7 separate regions of the Homo sapiens genome follow, and all the other regions are linked to region 1. Evidence: promoter capture Hi-C in human tissues and cell types (Jung and others, 2019). All regions are on one chromosome and are shown on one strand. The core of a region is centred on a gene start or on the middle of the fragment in contact, and the rest is flanking DNA. Distances in the headings are between cores, read along the strand shown. Region 1 holds the start of CNBD2 (cyclic nucleotide binding domain containing 2). Region 2 overlaps CEP250 (centrosomal protein 250). Region 3 overlaps CEP250 (centrosomal protein 250). Region 4 holds the start of C20orf173 (chromosome 20 open reading frame 173). Region 5 has its middle 18 kb from the start of SPAG4. Region 6 overlaps CPNE1 (copine 1). Region 7 overlaps CPNE1 (copine 1).

Region 1 (2,843 bases), core at 179-2,678:
GCACCAAAGTGAGTCATGGAGACTCCCACCTGCTCATTCCCTCCTCTGCATGCCATTTATGCCAATTCCCCCTCCCGCTTTTTTTTTTTTTTTTTTTTTTTTTTTTGAGACAGAGTCTTGCTCTGTCGTTCAGGCTGGAGTGCAGTGGCACAATCTTGGCTGACTGCAACCTCTGCCTCCCGGGTTCAAGTGATCCTCCCACCTCAGCCTCCCGAGTAGCTGGGATTATAGGTGCCCACCACCTCACCCGGCTAATTTTTTTGTATTTTTAGTAGGGATGGGGTTTCACCACATTGGCCAGGCTGGACCAGACCTTGCTTCTGTTAATTGGATGCTACAAATGGAGAGCAAGTGTACCTGACATTTAGCTACACTGCTTTCTTAAAAAAAAAAAAAAAAAAAAGGCCCTGGCCAGGAGTGGTGGTTTATGCCTGTAATCCCGGCACTTTGGGAGGCTGAGGTGGGTGGATCACTTGAGGTCAGGAGCTTGAGACCAGCCTGGGCAACGTGGTGAAAGCCTGTCTTTACTAAAAATACAAAAATCAGCCGGGCATGGTGGCACACGCCTGTAATCCTAGCTACTTGGGCGGCTGAGGCAGGAGAATCACTTGAATTTGGGAGGCAGAGGTTGCAGTGAGCTGAGATTGGGCCACTGCACTCCATCCTGGGAACAAAGTGAGACAGTGTCTCAAAAAACAAAAAAGCCCTATCTTTGCAGGACAGGTGAGCCCCCAAATTGAGACTTAGCTTAGGAGAGTTCTTGGCTTTGCCCAAGGAAGGAATTCAAGGGTGAGCCAGTGGTGTTAGACAGCAATCTTTTATTGAATAGTGCTTCTCCTTGTGGGGCAGGGCTAACTCATGGGCAATGAATCCGGAGTCGATACCCAGTGTATGAGATGTTGGCAACTGTATTTATGCTCATCTCTAATCCCTTCTCAGCCTTTTGGCTGAGATCAAGTGTAGTATACGCATTCCTACCCACTTTCAATCACATGCAAATTAAGGGGCAGGCTAATGCAAATTAAGGGGCAGGTTAATGCAAATTAAGGAGTGGGTTTTTAGAGTTTTCTAGGAAAGAGGTAGCAACTTCCTGGTCATTGCCAAGACATTTGTACACTGTCATGGCACTGGTAGGAGTGTCTTATGTTAATGAGGGATGGGGACAGCTAGGGGGTCCTAGATCCTGTTTTGGTCAGCAGGGTTGTGCCATTCTCCTGTCTCACCAGGACTCTGGCAGCCATTTAGCTACTTTGAGCCCCAGTCTCCTATGTATGGAGTTGAGTAAAAGTTTGGGTGGTTGTGAGGATTAGCTGAGATAATGCCTGTGAGTATCCCATAAATGTTAGACTCCCACATTCCAATCCCTGTGTCCCCTGCCTCCAGAATCTTTCATTGTGACCTTAGGAGATTCTGAGAATGATTTTTCTCAGAGCAGGGCTTCCAGTAGCTGATGGTATGGTAGGAGGAGTGGAGTGGAGCTCTTGCCTTGTTACTGAGGAAATCTATTTGTTTCTAGTATTACTGGATTTTTGGGGAAAAATTTGTAGTCCTCCCCTTGAAAGGCAAAGGGGCTAGTTGTGCCATTTGCCTGCACAGGAACCATGAGGAGACATATGGTAACTTATGCCTGGCAGCTCCTGAAGAAGGAACTGGTGAGGAGGGGCAAGGGCCCTGGGAGGGAAGAGCAGAAGACTGAACAGACAGGTGTTTTGAGGAAGGTCGATGCAGGTGTAGGAGGGGTCTTGGATGAATGGTGGCCATCCTGTACCTTTTGGAGTCACAGCATGGCACAAAGGAGGGACCCCTGCCCTGTAGCCTACCAGCCCCCCACACTGGGCAAGCCATAAGCCACACTCAGAGCCACTGAGTCCTGTTCTGTACCCACTCTTCCTGCTATTATGAGATCCAGAGAGAACGAGGGAGGATAGAGTCAGGGTAGCAACATTGAGTCATAGGTTAAGCTTGTGAACTCTGGAGCCAGACTACCTAGGTTTAAATCCCTATCACCTATTAGTCATGTGACCCCAGGCAAGTTGCTTGGTTTGCTGTGCCTTTATTTTCTCCTCTGTAAAGTGAGATGATAATACTAGTACCTACTGCATAAATTTACTGATTAAATGATTTACATATCAGAATAGTGCTTTGGATAATGCCTGACAATAGTAAATTGTACTCAGTAAGTATTAATTTTATTCATAAAGTACCTTTCCCCATATTTCCATAGATATCTAATTTTTAAGAAATAGAACATTACAGGTGTAGGGAAAGCTCTTTACCATCCCATGCCCCTTTATTTCTCTTTAATAGTAACCACTTTCCTGAAGTTGGTGTCACCCTTCCTGTTTATATTTTTATATATTATCACATGTGTATGTATCCATAAACAATATATAGTATGTGGCACACTGTTTAAAAATGATACCATAAATAGCATCATAGTTCTTTTTTCCCACTCAAAATCATTTCAGCTTTATCCACATTGACACACACAGACTTAGTGCTGTGTTCAATCCTGTGACTGAACCATAATGTATTGATCCCTTCGATCCCTACTAATGAACATTTGTTTTCAGCCATTCACTGTTACACACAATGTTGCCATGATTACCCTCATGGCTATCCCCTTGTACATGTATGTTTCTCTGAAGAGGACATATAAAGTACATACAATTCTTCCATTGTGAAGTACACACATCCTCAACTTTATATAATGTTGCCAAATTGCTCTTCAACATGGTTGTACCATGTTTCCCAGTTCCCAGTGATAAGTGCAAAATAGTATCATGTTATTACTTTAATTTCCATTTCCATTATTTCTAGCAATGTTAAAAATGGTTTCACAA
Region 2 (2,843 bases), core at 244-2,743, 490 kb before region 1:
CCCATATGGGATGAGACACTGAGGGGGATACAGAAATGAATAAGACAAAAGCCCTGATTTCAGGGAACTTGCCAGAAGACAGACAACTCACTGTGACATGAGGCTGGATGAAGTATGAGTTAAATAGAGTTTCAGACCAAGTCCTTTGGGAGCACAGGAGTGACAGCTAATTATTGAAGACTAGGAAATGCTTTATGGAGGAGAGAGTAGACTTTGAGCTGGGCCTTTACCTATTTGGTTAGCAGAGAGTGGGAGAAGAGCTCAAGGAACAGATTAGCAAAGAAAAGGCGGCAGGAAGGTTCATGGCATGTTCAGAGTAGGCTGGGCTGGCTAAAGGGTAAGACTTATACAGGGAAGTAGTGGGAAATGTGCTAGCTGGTCAAGAAAGGGAAATCCAGAATCAATGGCCCCAGCTAATCTGTAAATTCCCCTATATGATGTCACAGAAAAAGCAAGGACTTTGAGCTAGGCAGAAGCTTAGTTTAAATTATGGCTCTGTCACATGGACAGATTATTTGTAGAATGATGATAATATTTACCTTGAAGGGTTGCTGGGAAGATGAGAGCAATGTTTTGGAAAACGCCAGCATAGAACCTGGCATATGGTAGGTCTTTAATAACTGGGAGCAGGGATATATCTTCATCTTTGCTGTATTTCCCTCCTCTCCTGTGCCCCAGTTCCTTGTACCTGGTAGGCATGAATAGTGGAAGCTTGAAGGGCTGCCATAAGGGTCATGACTTGTGCTAAGAATGATCTCCCTGTACCAAGGAGAAGGGCAGACAACCCCTAACAACAAAAAATTAGCTGTAGCTGAATGTGGTGGCATGTGCCTGTAGCCATGGCAAGGTGAGATGGGAGGATCACATGAGCCCCCAGGAGTTTGAGGCTTCAGTGAGCTAAGAAGATACACAGAGAAGTCTCACTCTCATTTGTGCTTTCTCCATCCCATTTCCCTTCCCCCTTTAGGCAACCATTTTAGCTGACTTCTTGTTTATCTTGCCAGTGCTCCTTCATGCAAATACGGGCATATATTCTTTCTTCCCCCACTTTCTTGCATAAAAGGTAGTGTATCATGTATATACTGTTCTGCACCTTGATTTTTTTCACTTGACATGTCTTAGAAATCTTTCCTTATCAGTGTTTATAGACCATCCTCATTCTGTTGCATAGCAAAGGTGATTATATTCCTGTTACCTTTGGGGTTATGGCCCATCCCTAAGAGTTCCTCTAGACCCCTCTCTTTCCCATCTTAGTCAGGAGATGCTGATGGGCCTGGAAGCCAAACAGTCAGAATCACTCAGTGAACTGATCACTCTTCGGGAAGCCCTGGAGTCAAGTCACCTGGAAGGGGAGTTACTGAGGCAAGAGCAAACGGAAGTGACCGCAGCGCTGGCTAGGGTGCGTGGCCTCCTCTCCTCACTTGCTGGGTGGGCGGCTTCGAAAGTGTGTTCCCATGCAGCCTGCCTCATTCTTCACCTTCAAGCCAGGATCCCTCATCTTTCCTCAATCATTAGTCTGCTTCTGGGTTCTCTATTCCAACATACCCTCTATATTGGAATTAGAATGGGCTTTCTAAAGTATATACCTGGTTATGTCAGTCTCTTAAAACCATTCAACGGCTTTCTAGCTCTGTGGTGCCACATTCAAAGCTTTTTGTCATGTGCCTCAAAGTGTGTTTTAGCCTCCCCTTCTACTGCAAAACCCATCCTAACACCTCATATCCTTTGCTCCTGCCACAGCAGTAATTGCCTTCTCAGTTATTCCATGTTCTTCATGACTCTAATACTCTGCGTGTACTTTTCCCTTTCTCTGCACTACTTCTTTCCTCTTCCTTTATGTGCAAACTGTTCCTCATCTCTCAGTACACAACTTAATCGTCAACTCCTCTACCAAGCATATTTGACTCTTCCAAACTATATTAATATTTTTTTTAGTTCCCAGAGCACTTTGTGCTTACATTTTCTGTGGCATCATTACAATCATAGTCATTTCTCTATCCTAACTTTGGTATCTCTATACTGTGAGGTCCTGTCTCACTCCTTAATGAATGAATGAAGGGAAAACTTGTTTAGAATGCAGGAGAGGGAATGGAGTATTAACTGATCTCTGTACCAAAAAGCAGCAGTGTTGGGAATGTGAACTGTTTACTGTTCCAGGAAAATTGGAAATATGAAACTCTTTAATCCTTTTTGTTTTTTAGGCAGAGCAGTCAATTGCAGAGCTGTCGAGTTCTGAAAACACCCTGAAGACAGAAGTAGCTGATCTTCGGGCTGCAGCTGTCAAGCTCAGTGCCTTAAATGAGGCTTTGGCGTTAGATAAAGTTGGGCTGAACCAGCAGCTTCTCCAGGTGAGCAAAGATTTTCCTGGTCCCCACAGAAGGGCTGGGCCCTAACTGAGAGCAAGACGGATCAGCTCCCAAATGTAGGTCTGAAATGAGCAAAAGGAACATTTACAATGCAGAGGAGAGCAAAGACTGTAAGGATTGGGCTTAGCCATTATAAATATTCCCCTCCCACACCTCCAGCAGAACCACCTCTGGACTTCAGGGTAAGACACCAAGGTTGGGAAGGGGCCCATGTCCTCTGGAAGGAAGACTAGGTTTTTTGCTGGGGTTTTCTTGAGATGGATCTCCCTCTGTCACCTAGGCTGGAGTGCAGTGGTGCGATCTTAGCTAACTGCAGTTTTCATCTCCTGGGTTCAAGCAATTCTCCTGCCTCAGCCTCCTGAGTAGCTGGGATTACAGGCATGTGTCACCACACCTGGCTAATTTTTTTTTTTTGAGATGGAGTTTTGCTCTTGTTGCCCAGGCTGGAGTACAGTGGCACGATCTTGGCTCGCTGCA
Region 3 (2,843 bases), core at 185-2,684, 470 kb before region 1:
CCTTGGGCAAGTCACCTGTCCTCTCTGAGCTTGATTTTCCTCAACTACAAAATGAGGATGTTAAAAGTATTTACCTTATAATTTCACCAAGGAGTTATGAGGTTGCAGATGTGAATCACTTACACGGTTCCTGGCACTTATTAAGTGCGTAATAAGTGATAGCTCGCATTAATCTAGCACCCACCATAGTGCCTGGCCCATACTTATGGAGAAAATATGTGATGAGTGAACTGCTGAGAAAGGGGTTCTTTGCGGAGAGGAGGGACCAGTTGGAAGGACAGGGCTGTGTCTGGAGAGGTCTGGCTGTTTCTTTTCATAGTGGCAGCCAGGTAAGGAGGTTTTCCTCATTTTTTCAGACCAGAATGGAGCTAGGAGCCTCTTTAAGAGAGGGCCCCTGCTGACTGCTCTCTCCGCTGAGGCAGTAGCATCTGCCCTCCACAAGCTTCATCAAGACCTGTGGAAGACTCAACAGACCCGGGTATGTTTCTCTGCTCCCCTTTCCCGAACTCTTTACATCCCTGGAAAAGCATGAGGCAAAGGGGTGTGAAGCAGTTTGACCTGTTTTATTCCTGAGATCAAGTTGGGATGAGTTTCACCTCTATCACTTACCACCTGGCAACCACAAATGAAGCATTTGAAGTTCCTGGGCCTTGTTTTCCCTTGCAGAGTAGGGCAGATAGTGCCTGCTCAGGGTTTTGAGGATTAGATGAGAGAGGATCTTGAATGAGCCCTGTAAACCAAAAAACCCTGGGTAGGCCAGGCACGGTGGCTCATGCCTGTAATCCCAGTGCTTTGGGAGGCTGAGACAGGTGGATCACCTGAGGTCAGGAGTTCAAAATCAGCCTGGCCAACATGGTGAAACCCCATCTCTACTAAAAATACAAAAATTAGCCAGAGGTGGCGGTGGGCACCTGTAATCCCAGCTACTCAGGAGGCTGAGGCAGGAGAATCACTTGAACCTGGGAGGTGGAGGTTGCAGTGAGCCAAGATTGTGCCATTGCACTCCAGGTTGAACGACAAAAGTGAAACTCCATCTCAAACAAACACAAAAAAACCCTGGGCAGATGTATGGCATTGTTTTCCATCATCTTCCACTCAGCTATGAATTAATTCTTGGTACCCAGGCTTCCAAGAGAAACCCTAGAAATCAGTGACCACTGAGATTTGAGGTTGGCATTTATAGGCATGTTCTAGGCCTAGGTCTGAAAGAGCTCATAAATTCCACCTCACAGTGAACCTATCAGTCAATACAAATTGAGTGTCATCCATATGTCAGCCACTCTGGGCTGGGTATACAAAAAGGAGAAAGACCTGGTCTCTGCCTAAAGAAGGCTTGTGACATGGTGGAGGAACCAAACTGCATTCTACTGGAAAGCAGAACTGAGAGAATTAATTGGATCAATAACAGACGCAAGTGATGCACTGTTGGAACTAGGAGGAGGGGGCAATTCATCCTGATTTGGGAAGGGTCAGAAGGAAAGAAGAGATGACCTTTGGGCTGAGCTTTGAAGTAGGAGTGTTGAGAGGGAAGTGGTGACCCCTGGGCTAACTTTGAGCAGGAGCTCTGTTTCAAAAGACATAGATAGGTCAGAAGGGGATGGATTCTCACACTCCATCCAAGTGGAGCAGAGCCTGTCATCACTTCAGGAAGCTAAATACACATGTGTTTAAAGGAAGTAACCCGGCAATCTGGGAGTAGGTCCACAATGGCGGCCCACCACAGAAGCTGAGAATGAGGAGAGAGCTTGAGCCCTGCATTGTTTTGTGGAAGATGAGGAACTCACGTTTAGCCATGCCCTTCCTTTCCCAGGATGTTCTGAGGGATCAGGTCCAGAAACTGGAAGAGCGTCTAACTGATACTGAGGCTGAGAAGAGCCAGGTCCACACAGAGTTGCAGGATCTGCAGAGACAGCTCTCCCAGAATCAGGAAGGTGAGAAGCTCAAGACAGGCAGGGAGATTGAGAGGGAGAAGGGATAGGTGGGGAGCCCAGAAGTGGCAGGCACAGGCCTAGCAGCCACTCTGTTTATTTTATTTTATTTTTGAGACGACATCTCACTCTGTCACTCAGGTTTGAGTACAATGTCACGACTTCGGCTCGCTGCAACCTATGTCTTCCGAGCAGCTAGGATTATAGGCATGCGCCACCACGCCTGGCTAATTTTTTTGGATTTTTAATAAAGACGGGGTTTCACCATGTTCACCAACCAGCGGAGCCACCGGGGTCTCTAGGAGCTCCTGCACAATTATAGGATTGGGGGCTAGAAGGGACCTCCAGTGTCATCTGGCTCAACCCTGTCTGGAATTGAGGGCCAAGGCTCTCTGTGATGAGGATGAGGACATATTGGGATGATTACCAGGCAGCGCTGGGGCTGGCAGCAGCAGGGAGTGCTTGAACTCCTGGCCTCAAGTGATCCGCCTGCCTCGACCTCCCAAAGTGCTAGGATTACAGGCGTGAGCCACTGCGCCCAGCTGCACTGCATTATTTACCCAGAAATGTGAGGTGAGATCTAGATGCACTTCCAAAGGGGTGCTGACCACCTTGAACTATTTTTTCAGCTTTGCTTGGCCTTTGAGGCCCATCCTGGAAGAAGAGATTAGGAGGAACAGATTTGATGAACTGAAAGAAGGAAATGGCTGGGCTTCCATTTTCTGTCTCTGTAGATTTAAAAATTAAAAAAATTGGAGACCCAGGGCCAGGACTGTAAGAACATTATAAAACTGCATCTTTTGTCATCCATGTTACTTATTTTTATCATCTTCAACTGTGTCCTCCAAGTTAGCCTTTGGTAGCTGAGGGATTATGAGCTTATTTGGGAGAAAGCAAAGAGAGGGGATCTGGGGA
Region 4 (2,843 bases), core at 253-2,752, 440 kb before region 1:
GAGGAAGGGGGAGGGAACTGACCTGGGGCCCTTCCCACAGCAACCCACAGCCACATCCTACCCCTTTTCCTATTCCCCCTCACCGTGTCTTTGCTATCTTCCACTCCACTAGGGAACCAGACCATCTTCCAAAATCTGAGAAAGAATTGGAGGTGGGGGAGTTTGGGCCACAAGACCTGGGAAAGTCCTGCAAGTGTCCCCAGTAAGCCAATAGAAGGTCTTCCCAGAGCCCCTGCTGTTACTCCCTGCAGTGACCTCCCCTCACCCCCACACAGAGAATGTCTGGGGACACCTCCATCACCTTATCACTTAGAGCATCTGAAGTCCACACCAGGTCAGAGAGCTTCCGCAGTAGCATCTCCAGCTGCATCCAGGAGCCCTGGTCGCTGGCATTCCTGGGATAGATGAAGCATTGTGTGTGGTTTGGTTCCCCACGTCCATCTCAAAGCCCTGGACTTGGGGCCTGCTTCATCTTGGGAAGGGGAGCAGAAACTGATGGAACTGTGGGGCAGGCCTGGCCTTCCTGCTCCCGCCCTCTCCCCAGCACCCACCTGAAAACCACGGGGTATTGGTCGATGTCGTTGCCAAGGCTGGAGCCCTGCGGGATCTGTGGGCGCCCCAACAGCACACAAGTCCCACAATAGAAATCAAAATGGCTCACCGAGAGCCTGGGAATCCCTTTAAACAGCTTCCTCCACAATTTCCCAAGCTCGCTCCCTGAGTTCATGCCCTGGAAACAGCAAGAGGGAGATTGGGGGCTGGGCCCAGGGGAGAGAAAACAGAGCTGGGTGGGTGAGATCTCCATCCAGAGGCTGTGAAGACAGGGCCAAGGGCAGGGATTTGGGCGGAAAGTGGGAGATGGGTGAGGCCCGGAAAGCATGGGGGATATGGCCGGGCCCAGTGTTGACCACTGACCAACCACCAGAGCACAGTGTCAGAGGTCATAGACTCTCTTGTCCTCATCAGGTACCCCATAGTCTTCCTGGAGCACGCATCAAGCCAGTTCCATTCGTCGGCTGTGTGGTGGCAGGAGGAGCAGTTGAGGGTCTCAGAAGGGCAGCCACACTTCCCGGAACTGAACCAAGGGCAGTCGCAATGCTGTGGTACCAAGTACATTCGTTTTTCCTGGGGTGCTGATTCAGGTGTCAGATCCAGATAGGGGGTCATCAGCCAGAGGATGAGCACCCAAAAGACCCACAGGACAAAAATCTGCCAGCGCTTCATGTCTGGCCCAGGCGGTGGCTCCCGTGGTGGGCCGTAGACTGGCTTCTCTACCTGTAAGGATGAGGGGCTGAGGCCACAGACAGCACCAGCTTCCCTCTGTCCTGTCGGCCTCCACAACTCCCCATCCCACCACCTTCCACCTCCTTCCAACCCCTCCTCTCCTGCCTCACTATCCATTTGCTCACCCTCAAAACGGTCTCTGACTGGGCATGGGGTGGAAGAGGCCAGGGCAGAGAGACAGCATGTGGCTAGTCCTGAGAGGGGAAGGAATACCTCAGTGGGGGCCTTGCTGTCATCCCAGTTATATCATAGATCTCATCACAAAGTACACATTGTGACCTCCCTCCTTTAGCCTGCCTGAAAAAAGCCACCACCCTACCCTTTCTCTGACACCGAAATGACCTCCACTGGATGTAAGATTCATGAGGACAGGGGCTGACCTAGTCTCTCTTCTTCACCTCTGCAGCTCTAAGACTTAGAATCATTTAATAAATATTTATGGGATAAATAAACAGGGGTTGAGAGGGAACTTTTTTTTTTTTTTTTGAGATGGAGTTTTTGCTCTGTTGTCCAGGCTGGAGTGCAGTGGCATGATCTTGGCTCACTGCAACTTCCGCCTGCCTGGTTCAAGCGATTCTCATGCCTCAGCCTCCCAAGTAGCTGGGACTACAGGCATGCGCCACCACGCCTGGCTAATTTTTATATTTTTAGTGGAGACAGGGTTTCGCCATATTGGCCAGGCTGGTCTCAAACTCCTGACCTCAAGTGATCCGCCCACCTCAGCCTCCCAAAGTGCTGGAATTACAGGCGTGAACCACCATGCCCAGCCGGGAACTTTATTTTTAAATTATTATTATTATTATTATTATTATTATTATTATTATTATTATTTTGAGACGGAGTTTCACTCTTGTCGCCCCAGCTGGAGTGCAGAGGCACGATCTCGGCTCACTGCACCCTCTACCTCCCGGGTTTAAGTGATTCTCTTGCCTCGGTTTCCCAAGTAGCTGGGATTACAGGTGCCCGCCACCACGCCTGGCTAATTTTTTTGTATTTTTAGTAGAGACGGGGTTTCCCCATGTTGGTCAGACTGATCTCGAACTTCTGACCTCAGGTGATCCGCCCGCCTTGGCCTCCCAAAGTGTTGGGATTACAGGCATGAGCCACTGCACCCCGCCCCAGCCTGGAACTTTAAATATACTTGTGTGTGATGCCCTCTCTGGAGTTGTGTGACATCAACTCAATCCTCTCTTGTAGTCTCTAGACCCCATATCCAACAGCCTACTGAATTGCCACTTAGATGGCTCAGAGACATCTCACCTGAATAAGCCTGAGACTGAACCCAGGATTTTCCCTGTAAACCAACCCTTCCCAAAACTTCTCTGTCTCTTTTGTTTTGTTTGAGACAGAGTCTTGCTCTGTCACCCAGGCTGGAGTGCAGTGGCGCAATCTCAGCTCACTGCAACTTCTGCCTCCTCCGGGGTTCAAGCAATTCTCCTGCCTCTGCCTCCCGAATAGCTGGGATTACAGGTGCGTGCCACCAAGCCCGGCTAATTTTTTGTATTTTTGGTACAAACGGGATTCCACCATGTTGGCCAGGCTGATCTCAAACTCCTGAC
Region 5 (2,843 bases), core at 198-2,697, 370 kb before region 1:
CCCCGCAAAACAAAACAAAACAAAACAAAAACCCTATTTCACCTCAGAACTTTCGAGTCATCTCTCACTGCTCTTTCTCTCTTATTCCACATCAATTCATCAGCAAATTCTTTATGCTCTACCTTCAAAAAATATCCAGAATCTGGCCAGGTGTGGTGGCTCAGGCCTGTAATCCCCGCACTTTGGGAGGCCGAGGCGGTGAATCACTTGAGGTCAGGAGTTCGAGACCAGCCTGGCCAAAATGGTGAAACAACTGTGTCTACTGACGCTGAAAGGTTGAGCATGGTGAGAACAGAAAAGTGACCACCTACAGCCTCCTACCTCACTGCCTCTCCTGATCAGGGTCCTTGGCTGAGTCCCTGCTTCCTCCCTGCCTCTAAATGCTGGAACGCTCCAGGTTCTCAGATTTCTCTTTTCTGTGCTCTGTTAATGCTGTTATCCAGCTCCATCTACATAATGATAGTTCCCAAATTGACATTTCCAGCCTAGAATTCTCCCCAGAACTCAACTCATATAGCTAACTGCCTACCACACATGTCCACTTACAATTCAATAAGAATTTCACAGTTAACATGTCCAAAACTGAGCTCCTACTATCTGCCTTCCCTCAGATCCCACCTCATCCCTGCTTCCATCAGACCTTCTCCTTTGTTTTCTGTTGAAAACAGATTTTTTTCTTTTTTCCAAAAAAAGAAGATTTTGGCTTGCATAACTATGCAGTTGGTGCAGCCTTAAACTCCTGGACTCAAGCCATCCTCCCATCTCAGCCTCCTGAGTAGCTGGGACTACAGGTGTGCACCACCACACCCAGCTAACTTTTGTATTTTTCATAGAGACAAGGTCTTCCTATATTGTTCAGGTTGGTTTCAAACCCCTGGGCTCAATTGATCCTCCCACCTTGGCCTCCCAAAGTGCTGGGATTCCAGGTGTGAGCCACCATGCCCAGCCCACAAGCCAAAATCTTAGCAAGTCCTGAGGTATCACCCCCAATTCCAAATTTTCTCTGGAATCCATTCACAGCACTCCATCTCCACTGCAACCATCCCCTAGATCAGTTCATCGCCACCTGTCACGTGGATTATCACAATAGCCCCTTTACTAATCTCCCTGCTTCCTCCCCCACTGATCCCTTTTAAGGATCTATGTGTTAGAGTGTATCTTTTTCCTTTTCAAAACATTCACTGCCCCTCCCCCCCCATTTCACTCAGAGAAGAAGCCAAAGTCATTAAAATGGCTTGTGAGGCTCCCACAGGATCTGTCCCTCCCCACCATCATCCTCCTTCCCCTGGCCTCCTCCAGCCTCTTCTACTATGTCACACTGCTGCAGTCACACTGGTTCTGTGCTCCTCCTCAAACACTCCAGGCATGCTGTCCCCTCCACCTGGAACACCATTACAGGCAGGCTTTCTCCTCCAGCTTCATGTCACCTTCACGGTGGCCTCCCCTCCACACCCTTTCTGAAATTGCAGTACCTCTTTCTAATGCTTCCTTGCTTCGCGTTCTTTCTTAACACTTATCCTACTTAGTATTTTTCTATCTGTTTACATGCTTATTTCACATGTCTCCACCCTTCCCCAACCTCTACACCCAAATGTAAGCTTCAGGGTTTTTTTTTAAAGTCAGGGTCCCATTCTGTCACCCAGACTGGAGTGCAGTGGCGCAATCATGGTTCACTGCAGCCTTGAACTCCTGGGCTCAAGATCTTCCCACTTCAGCCTCCCACAAGTAGCTGGGACTACAGGCATCAGCCATTGTGCCTGGCCAACTTCAGGGATTTTTGTGGGCAGGAATGCTTTTTCACTGATATTCCTGTGCCTAAAACAGTGTCTGGCATAGTAAGTGCCATAAATAGTTATCAAATAAAGAACCCTTTTGAGAAGAGGATCTGAAAATCACTTAAGTACCTGGAGCAGGTAATGGAATTCAGGGCAGTAGTGAAGGTCAAAGATGGAAGTAACTAGAACATGTTTTTTTTTTGTTTTCTTGTTTGTTTGTTTTTGAGACGTAGTCTTGCTCAGTCACCCAGGCTGGAGTGCAGTGGCGCAATCTTGGCTCACTGCAACCTCCACCTGCCAGGTTCAAGTGACTCTCCTGCCTCAGCCTCCCAAGTAGCTGGGAGGTACCCACCATTATGCCCGGCTAATTTTTGTATTTTTTTGGTAGAGACTGGGTTTCGCCATGTTGGCCAGTCTGGTCTTGAACTCCTGACCTCAAATGATCTGCCCGCCTCAGACTCCAAAAGTGCTGGGATTACGGGTGTGAGCCACCGCACCTGGCCGAACATGTTTATGTGGTTACAGCAATGACCTGGTAACTAGGGACCAATCAATGATGAAGGGGAGAAAATTGACAATTACAGAACTAATTCCTCCAGTGATGAAATCCAGATCACAGCTGTGGTCACTGGAGCAGGAAAGGAGGAGAGCAGATGGATGCAGAAGCCGGCAAGGAGGTAGACTGGGTGTGGGAAGGTGATTAGCAGGAACAAGTGTGAAAGAAAGGAGGCGAGGTTTGAAGAGACACGGGATAAGCCTCTAGGAGCGTGGGAAAGGGAACTCATGGAGATGGAAAACAGCTGAGGTGCCAGAGAATCAGGGGAAGCCTAACCCCCAATAATCTCATCAGCTCCCTGGATAGGAATAATTGTCTTCTCATTTTTCTGTAAGGTGCTGAGCAAATGCAGCTGCAAGCTGCCCTTGGGTCCAGACAGCCACCGAGAGTCTCCCTTGCCCTGGAGTTGGCCCAAGTACAGGCAGCAGTAGGAGTGGCTCTCAGCTCACCTGCTCCCAGCCACCAGTACTTCCAGTGCCTGCTTGAGCTGTGCACAGGCGCCAGGCCCCGGC
Region 6 (2,843 bases), core at 153-2,652, 320 kb before region 1:
CTGAGATCACGCCACTGCACTGCAGCCTAAGCAACAGAGTGAGACTCTGTTGCGAAAACAAAAAAACAACAAAGTAAGTTCAGGTCCCCCTCTGCAATCATAAGCTTGACCGTGGAGGCCAAGAAGCCCTACCAATAGGTAAGGGCCCTCCACACTATAGTTGGAGTTGGCAAACTGAAAAGGCTCCTTCCCCAGCAGCTCAGAATCCATGACAGAAGACTGCTGCCAGTGGCCTCCCACTTTCCCTAAAAGTCAGGGAGGGGCTGGGGATAGTTGAGGGAGGGTTTCTACCTGAGGAGTCATACAAGCATCCATGATTAAAACATCTTTGTTTTCCCCTTACTATTAATTATTTTTCTCTGCCTGGATTACCCCACCTGTAAAGTAGGGATGATAATGTTAACTTTACAGTGTTATTTGTGAGGATTACATGAGGACAGTCATAGAAAGTATCCCCTGCCCGGCACAGAGTAAGTACCCAGTGTCAACTGTCCCTGTAGGTGCTCACAAACAGGGAAGTGCACCTTTGGGTCCTTCTGCAGTATCATTAACTCCTTCTTGGTTAATTGGACCAAGGAGGAGTGGATCCAGGAGGAATGCCTCTGGTCTACCTGCTCCAGGATATAACTAGCAGGACAGGGACAGCCCCCAAAAGGAGAGATGAAGACTCTTCCCCTTTGAATTTCTCAAGCTGCAGTGTAGAATCACTACCACACTAGGGAAACCAGGAGAGCAGTACCCAGATCAAAATTTGGAGCTCCATTCCTGGTCACTTTAGTTTAAGGTCCAAACTCAGTACAGATTTCCAGAAACCGAATGGCTAGGTTCATACAATCACAGAAGCTTAAAACTGGACACAAGCTTATCTAATTTAATCCCATACTGTAAAAGAAACACTGAGGCCAGAGGGAAATAATCTGTCCTAAGTCACATAACTGATGGAACCACGAACCGATTCTGAGAATGTTATTTCTATATCCAACCATTTTAGCAACAGTTCACATTTTGTAATTCACCCCAATCTGAAATCTACCCTGCCACTACAACAGCAGTGAGACTCACATGGTCTCCCCTCATGATCTATGCTAATGTTAGCCTTGCACAAACATGGAATATAATTCTCCCTATTTGTCTGACTGCTGGGGAAGGAAGGTAGGAAATCCTGGACTCCACATTTACAGGAGTTGATCAAAGGAATAAATTTTAAGTAGCAAGCATGCATAGTGCAAATAAGGTAGAACTCACCTCTAAAAAATGTGATCTGTATCAAAATTTTCAAAGGACATCTATAGGGTAGTCAATTCTGCCCCCATCCCTCCCGGCTGAAATCTACATTCTTTTAATGTCTATCACCTGTGGGGTGTCTGAGACAACAGTACTATACCGCCTTCCTGATGATCTCCAGGACTGAGGCATCACCAAATACCTGTGCATCTACAGTGTGCACAAAAGGAGTGTATATCTCCTACAGCACAAAATGAGATGAGTAAATGAACAAAAGCAGACCAGAGCTCTTGGAAAAGAAACCTACCTATTGTTCATAATGCAAGCCCCTTACCCTTCACTGGAATAAATTCATTTGGGACACTGGGGAGAGTTTAAGATGGGTCTTCAGAATTTACATGTTAGGGAAGCCGAGAAAGCAAAGGAATATTTCAACAACAGGAAACTACACTATGACAAAGACTAGTTTACACTTGTTCCTGTCTAACCATAACTTAGCAAATGGCCAGGAAAGCCACTACCTGGTTCCCGTGGTATAGGAATGTACCTAGTATAAGCACAACCAAGCACTTAGTTGTGACTTAAAACCCTCAACTGTTGAAGAACAGGAACCTTATTTTGCTTTTCCACCAAAGTATAAGTGCTGGGTGCACACCACTGCAAAAATCTGTTAGTATGAGATACAGCTATGGCTAAGCTGTACATTCATGTGAAGTTGTCTTAAAAGCTTGAAGGTGACAGGTGCTTCCAATTCCAATCTGTCAATTCAATGGTCATAGAAGTAAAGCAGCTCATCTACATCAGTAATTAGTAGTTGCATTAATGTCCATCACTTCAGTCAGAGTTACAGCACAGGGACCCTACTGGTCCCACAGGCCAAACCACAGAAGGGAGTTATGTATAAAGGCTGGGCCACTCTCCAGCCCCCACTGCAATCTAATGTGTGGAGTATAGTGGAGTGTGGCATTAACAAACTTCCAAGTGGGATCACAGAAAAATCAAGGCAATCAGAGGCACTGGTACCAGTTGGTGTGATTTAAAACCTTTTAAGAAACTGAGGCCAGGCATAGTGGCTCACACCTGTAATCCCAGCACTTTGAGAGGCCAAGGCGGGAGCATCACTTGAGCCCCGGAGTTCAAGACCGGCCTGAGCCACATAGTGAAACTACCCCTCCACTCCACCATCACCCCTACCCCAGCAATTACCTCATCTCTACAAAAAAATTAAAAAAAAAAAAAAATAGCTACTTAGGAGGCTGAAGCAGGATTGCTTGAGCCCAGGACATCGAGGTTACAGTGAGCTGACTGTACCACTGCACTCCAGCCTGGGCAGCAGAGCAAGACCATCTCAAAAAAAAAAAAAAAAAAAAAAAAAAGAAACAAAAAAACTATTTAACCCTCTTAAATCCTTCCCACTGTGTGACTTGTGGTGTAGCACAATGTGGTTGTTATCATTTGATATGAAGCACAAACTCTAAGTGACAAGGCTTTTTTTTTTTTTTTTTGAGACAGGGTCTTGCTATGTTACTCACGCTAGTCTCAATTCCTGGGCTCAAGCGATCCTCCCACCTCGGCCTCCCAAAGTGCTGGGATTACAGGTGTGACCCACCACACCCAGC
Region 7 (2,843 bases), core at 97-2,596, 310 kb before region 1:
ATGACCTTAATATTCATCGCCAAAAAGTAAAACATATTTCAAAAATCTGTGTGATTTTCTAAAGGACAAACTATTCATCGTCTAGTCAACTACTCAAGTTGCTAAAGAATAGTGAGATGGTTTTACCACAAAAAGCTATGCAAATATGTAATCAACACAATCAAAAGTCTAGAGCATTGTATTAATCTTTTACATGTTGTAGAAATCTAGCCTCTTTTTTTTTTCTTTTTTTGAGACAGGGTATCGCTCTGTCGCCCAGGCTAGAGTGCAGTGGCGCGATCTAGGCTCATTAGGCTCATTGCAACCTCCGCCTCCCTGGGTTCAAGCTATTCTCATGCCTCAGCCTCTGGAGTAGCTGGGACTGACTACAGGCTTGCGCCACCACCCGCAGCTTATTTTTGTATTTTTAGTAGAGACAGGGGTTTCATTATGTTACCCAGGCTGGTCTCTTAACTCCTCACCTCAAGTGATCCACCCGCCTCAGCCTCCCAAAGTGCTGAGATTACAGGTGTGAGCCACCACGCCTGGCCTAGCCTAACTAAGTCTAAGGAGTTTAAAAATTCTTCATTTGAAAGCCATATCTAGTAGTTTAACAGGTCACAAAGGAAAATGTGAAACAGAAAAAAACCTGCTTCAAGTAAAGCAATGAGCAAGAGCATGAAGTACTGTAATATTTATGTACAGGTTTGACTCCAGCAGCCACATAACAGGGTAACTTTCTAGTTTCTAGAACTTGTAATAAACATCTGATCCCTACTGGAGATTCCAATTCAAAAGGTCAGGTATGGGGCCAGGGCATATGCCTGAATATAAGGTAAGAAGGTTCCTCTCAGCCTCTTCCCTTGCAAACTCAAAAGATACCGTATGTCTATCTTGAGAAGGACATATCTGGGGTCAGCCAGTTAAGCTCAAAGGGAACTCACCAGGTCTACTCTCAAAAATTTCTAAAAGGTTACCAGAAATTACCTTTAAAAGGAAGATATTTCTCATTCCACAAGGCAAGGCTGAAAGGCCCAGCTGAATTTGACAAATGCCTAGTTCAAGTTTTATGTGTACAACTTAAAGCACAAAATCAATCCAGATAGAAATTTATGATTCTCTTCTATTTCAGCAAAGAGGAATACCCACCCCACCCCATACCAAGGAAAACCATGCAGAAAGTTGATGCTACAAGTCAGAACTTCACAACCCTTGGTATTATACCTCTTCAAAAGGGAAAGGTAAATGGAAATAGAACTGAAATACTTCTGTGTTGACACCTCACTTTGTAAAAACCACAAGAATTTAACATAAGTGTCACTGTTTTCCAGGAAACTACTATTCCTGTATTCTAAATGTCAGCTAGCGACTGAATGCAGGATTTCAAAAATCCACGCCATTTACCTAAAGCTTTGCTGAACTTTAGAAGGATAAGACTAAAATAATAACTAAACAATAAAACATCTAAAATACATATTCTATCTATACATACAGCATAATGATAGGAAAGGAGAAAATGGGCCTGATTTGTCATTAAAGCCACTGATATACTTCAGAAGATCTAAAACAAGAAGCTGGCTTTAGTATGTTTTCCATTCATATTATCAGGAATTAGTCCTAACATAAAGGCTTGCTTCAACTTGACAAAATACCGGATGCATGCACAAATCACAAGTATCTGCTACAAAAATTTAACATATTATGGCAAGACAGACTTTCGTATTTACTAGCCATTCTAATCACTTGGAATTTCAGAAAAAAATGTCTGACAACAAATCTCTTCATCAAGAAGTCAAGGCACAAACTAAAACGACTATTTTCACTCTTCATCTGGTAGTAAACATCCAAAAGTGAACTTTAACTTTGTTCAGTTATCACTCTTTAATCAACAAGAACCAGGGTACAGCAGAGCTAGGTTCTTCAGATCCAAAAGAAACAAACTCTCAAATGTTCACCTCAGAGATTAGCAACAGAGAACCAATCACAACGGGCACAATGCTAAAAACAGTATAATCACATTATAATAAACATTATGAAACAACCACAGTTTCAGCCACTTGATTTTGTTCCCCATTCCCAAATGGACCATATATCAAAGTCTGGGATCACTCTTAATGAAAAAATTATTCTGACACTGATGGAGATGTGTACTTTTTATAACGCATTACTCAATTTTTCCATTAACCTCCATTCCGTACTCAAAGGCAGCAAATCAGAAGACATTTCTAAATAAGATATTCCTCCTGTCAAAAATATTAAGTTATGTTTCAATCCCCCCAAATGCCAACAAAAATGTTGCTACCTTCATTTTCACTTCAGAGCAAAATTATACTTCTAACCTAAACAACCACATTCACTCTGTTTTTGAGTCTTAAAAGCTGGCTTTAAACTTAATTAAATTTTGTGCAAACCAAAAGGTATATGGGTGTGGTAGTAAAATCTGATAAAACTGTAGTTTAGATAAAATTATCTTTTCTGTTTAGTTGAAAACATTTAACAATATTCCTTTACTCCATGAACATTTACTATTAAGCACTTGTGGGCCAGACAAAAGATATAAAAGTGGACATCATCAGTCTCTGCATTTTAGGGAGGGACATCTAAAAGCATCTTTTGTGCAACCAACTACTGACACTTGGTTCTTCCTACAACATCTACAGAAGAAAACATACATTCATACAATGACAGAATGGCTCTCTGCAAAATGGAGTAAAAACTATCAACACTGTCACTGGATTCCAGCACCTGGAACACACTGGCCCACAACATCAAGTTTCACACCTAAAGACTGTACTAACAACTCCCAAACTCTCAATACTCAATCATCAAAACATTTGACGTGTCAAAGAAGGTGAAAGAAGCCC

Evidence for each region. The method cuts DNA at HindIII sites, captures the fragments that hold promoters and counts their contacts. A contact is called where the count stands out against the background at its distance.
Region 2: a contact is called between a fragment that was not itself captured here and the fragment with the promoter of CNBD2 in region 1, in 1 of the 25 tissues and cell types used here (lymphoblastoid cells).
Region 3: a contact is called between a fragment that was not itself captured here and the fragment with the promoter of CNBD2 in region 1, in 1 of the 25 tissues and cell types used here (spleen).
Region 4: a contact is called between the fragment with the promoter of C20orf173 here and the fragment with the promoter of CNBD2 in region 1, in 5 of the 25 tissues and cell types used here (aorta, dorsolateral prefrontal cortex, small bowel and 2 more).
Region 5: a fragment that was not itself captured here is called in contact with the fragment with the promoter of CNBD2 in region 1 in 2 of the 25 tissues and cell types used here (small bowel and spleen).
Region 6: a fragment that was not itself captured here is called in contact with the fragment with the promoter of CNBD2 in region 1 in 6 of the 25 tissues and cell types used here (dorsolateral prefrontal cortex, heart left ventricle, lymphoblastoid cells and 3 more).
Region 7: a fragment that was not itself captured here is called in contact with the fragment with the promoter of CNBD2 in region 1 in 2 of the 25 tissues and cell types used here (IMR-90 fibroblasts and lymphoblastoid cells).

What each region holds. Positions count from the first base shown.
Region 1 is chr20:35,967,162-35,970,004 of GRCh38, forward strand. CNBD2 (cyclic nucleotide binding domain containing 2) reads left to right here and starts at 1,429. Exons shown (of 12, transcript NM_001365709.1): 1 at 1,429-1,652. The coding sequence starts at 1,602. It also overlaps the pseudogene LOC124904982. The HindIII fragment of the contact is 12,223 bases long and covers 1-2,843 here.
Region 2 is chr20:35,474,248-35,477,090 of GRCh38, forward strand. CEP250 (centrosomal protein 250) reads left to right here. Exons shown (of 35, transcript NM_007186.6): 15 at 1,255-1,399; 16 at 2,202-2,348. It overlaps CEP250-AS1 (CEP250 antisense RNA 1), which reads right to left. Exons shown (of 3, transcript NR_184017.1): 3 at 1-2,428. Among named protein-coding and RNA genes, the nearest start is that of CEP250-AS1, 15 kb to the right of the region's middle. The HindIII fragment of the contact is 3,045 bases long and covers 1-2,843 here.
Region 3 is chr20:35,498,239-35,501,081 of GRCh38, forward strand. It overlaps CEP250 (centrosomal protein 250), which reads left to right. Exons shown (of 35, transcript NM_007186.6): 27 at 357-478; 28 at 1,811-1,931. Among named protein-coding and RNA genes, the nearest start is that of CEP250-AS1, 8.7 kb to the left of the region's middle. The HindIII fragment of the contact is 7,280 bases long and covers 1-2,843 here.
Region 4 is chr20:35,528,150-35,530,992 of GRCh38, forward strand. It overlaps C20orf173 (chromosome 20 open reading frame 173), which reads right to left and starts at 1,503. Exons shown (of 6, transcript NM_001145350.2): 1 at 1,410-1,503; 2 at 916-1,275; 3 at 552-730; 4 at 302-395; 5 at 84-135. The coding sequence starts at 1,224. The coding sequence ends at 109. The HindIII fragment of the contact is 31,043 bases long and covers 1-2,843 here.
Region 5 is chr20:35,596,234-35,599,076 of GRCh38, forward strand. It overlaps the pseudogene FER1L4. Among named protein-coding and RNA genes, the nearest start is that of SPAG4, 18 kb to the right of the region's middle. The HindIII fragment of the contact is 5,332 bases long and covers 1-2,843 here.
Region 6 is chr20:35,643,679-35,646,521 of GRCh38, forward strand. All of the region lies in intron 1 of CPNE1 (copine 1), which reads right to left. Among named protein-coding and RNA genes, the nearest start is that of CPNE1, 20 kb to the right of the region's middle. The HindIII fragment of the contact is 5,383 bases long and covers 1-2,843 here.
Region 7 is chr20:35,659,989-35,662,831 of GRCh38, forward strand. All of the region lies in intron 1 of CPNE1 (copine 1), which reads right to left. All of the region lies in intron 1 of RBM12 (RNA binding motif protein 12), which reads right to left. Among named protein-coding and RNA genes, the nearest start is that of CPNE1, 3.5 kb to the right of the region's middle. The HindIII fragment of the contact is 4,098 bases long and covers 1-2,843 here.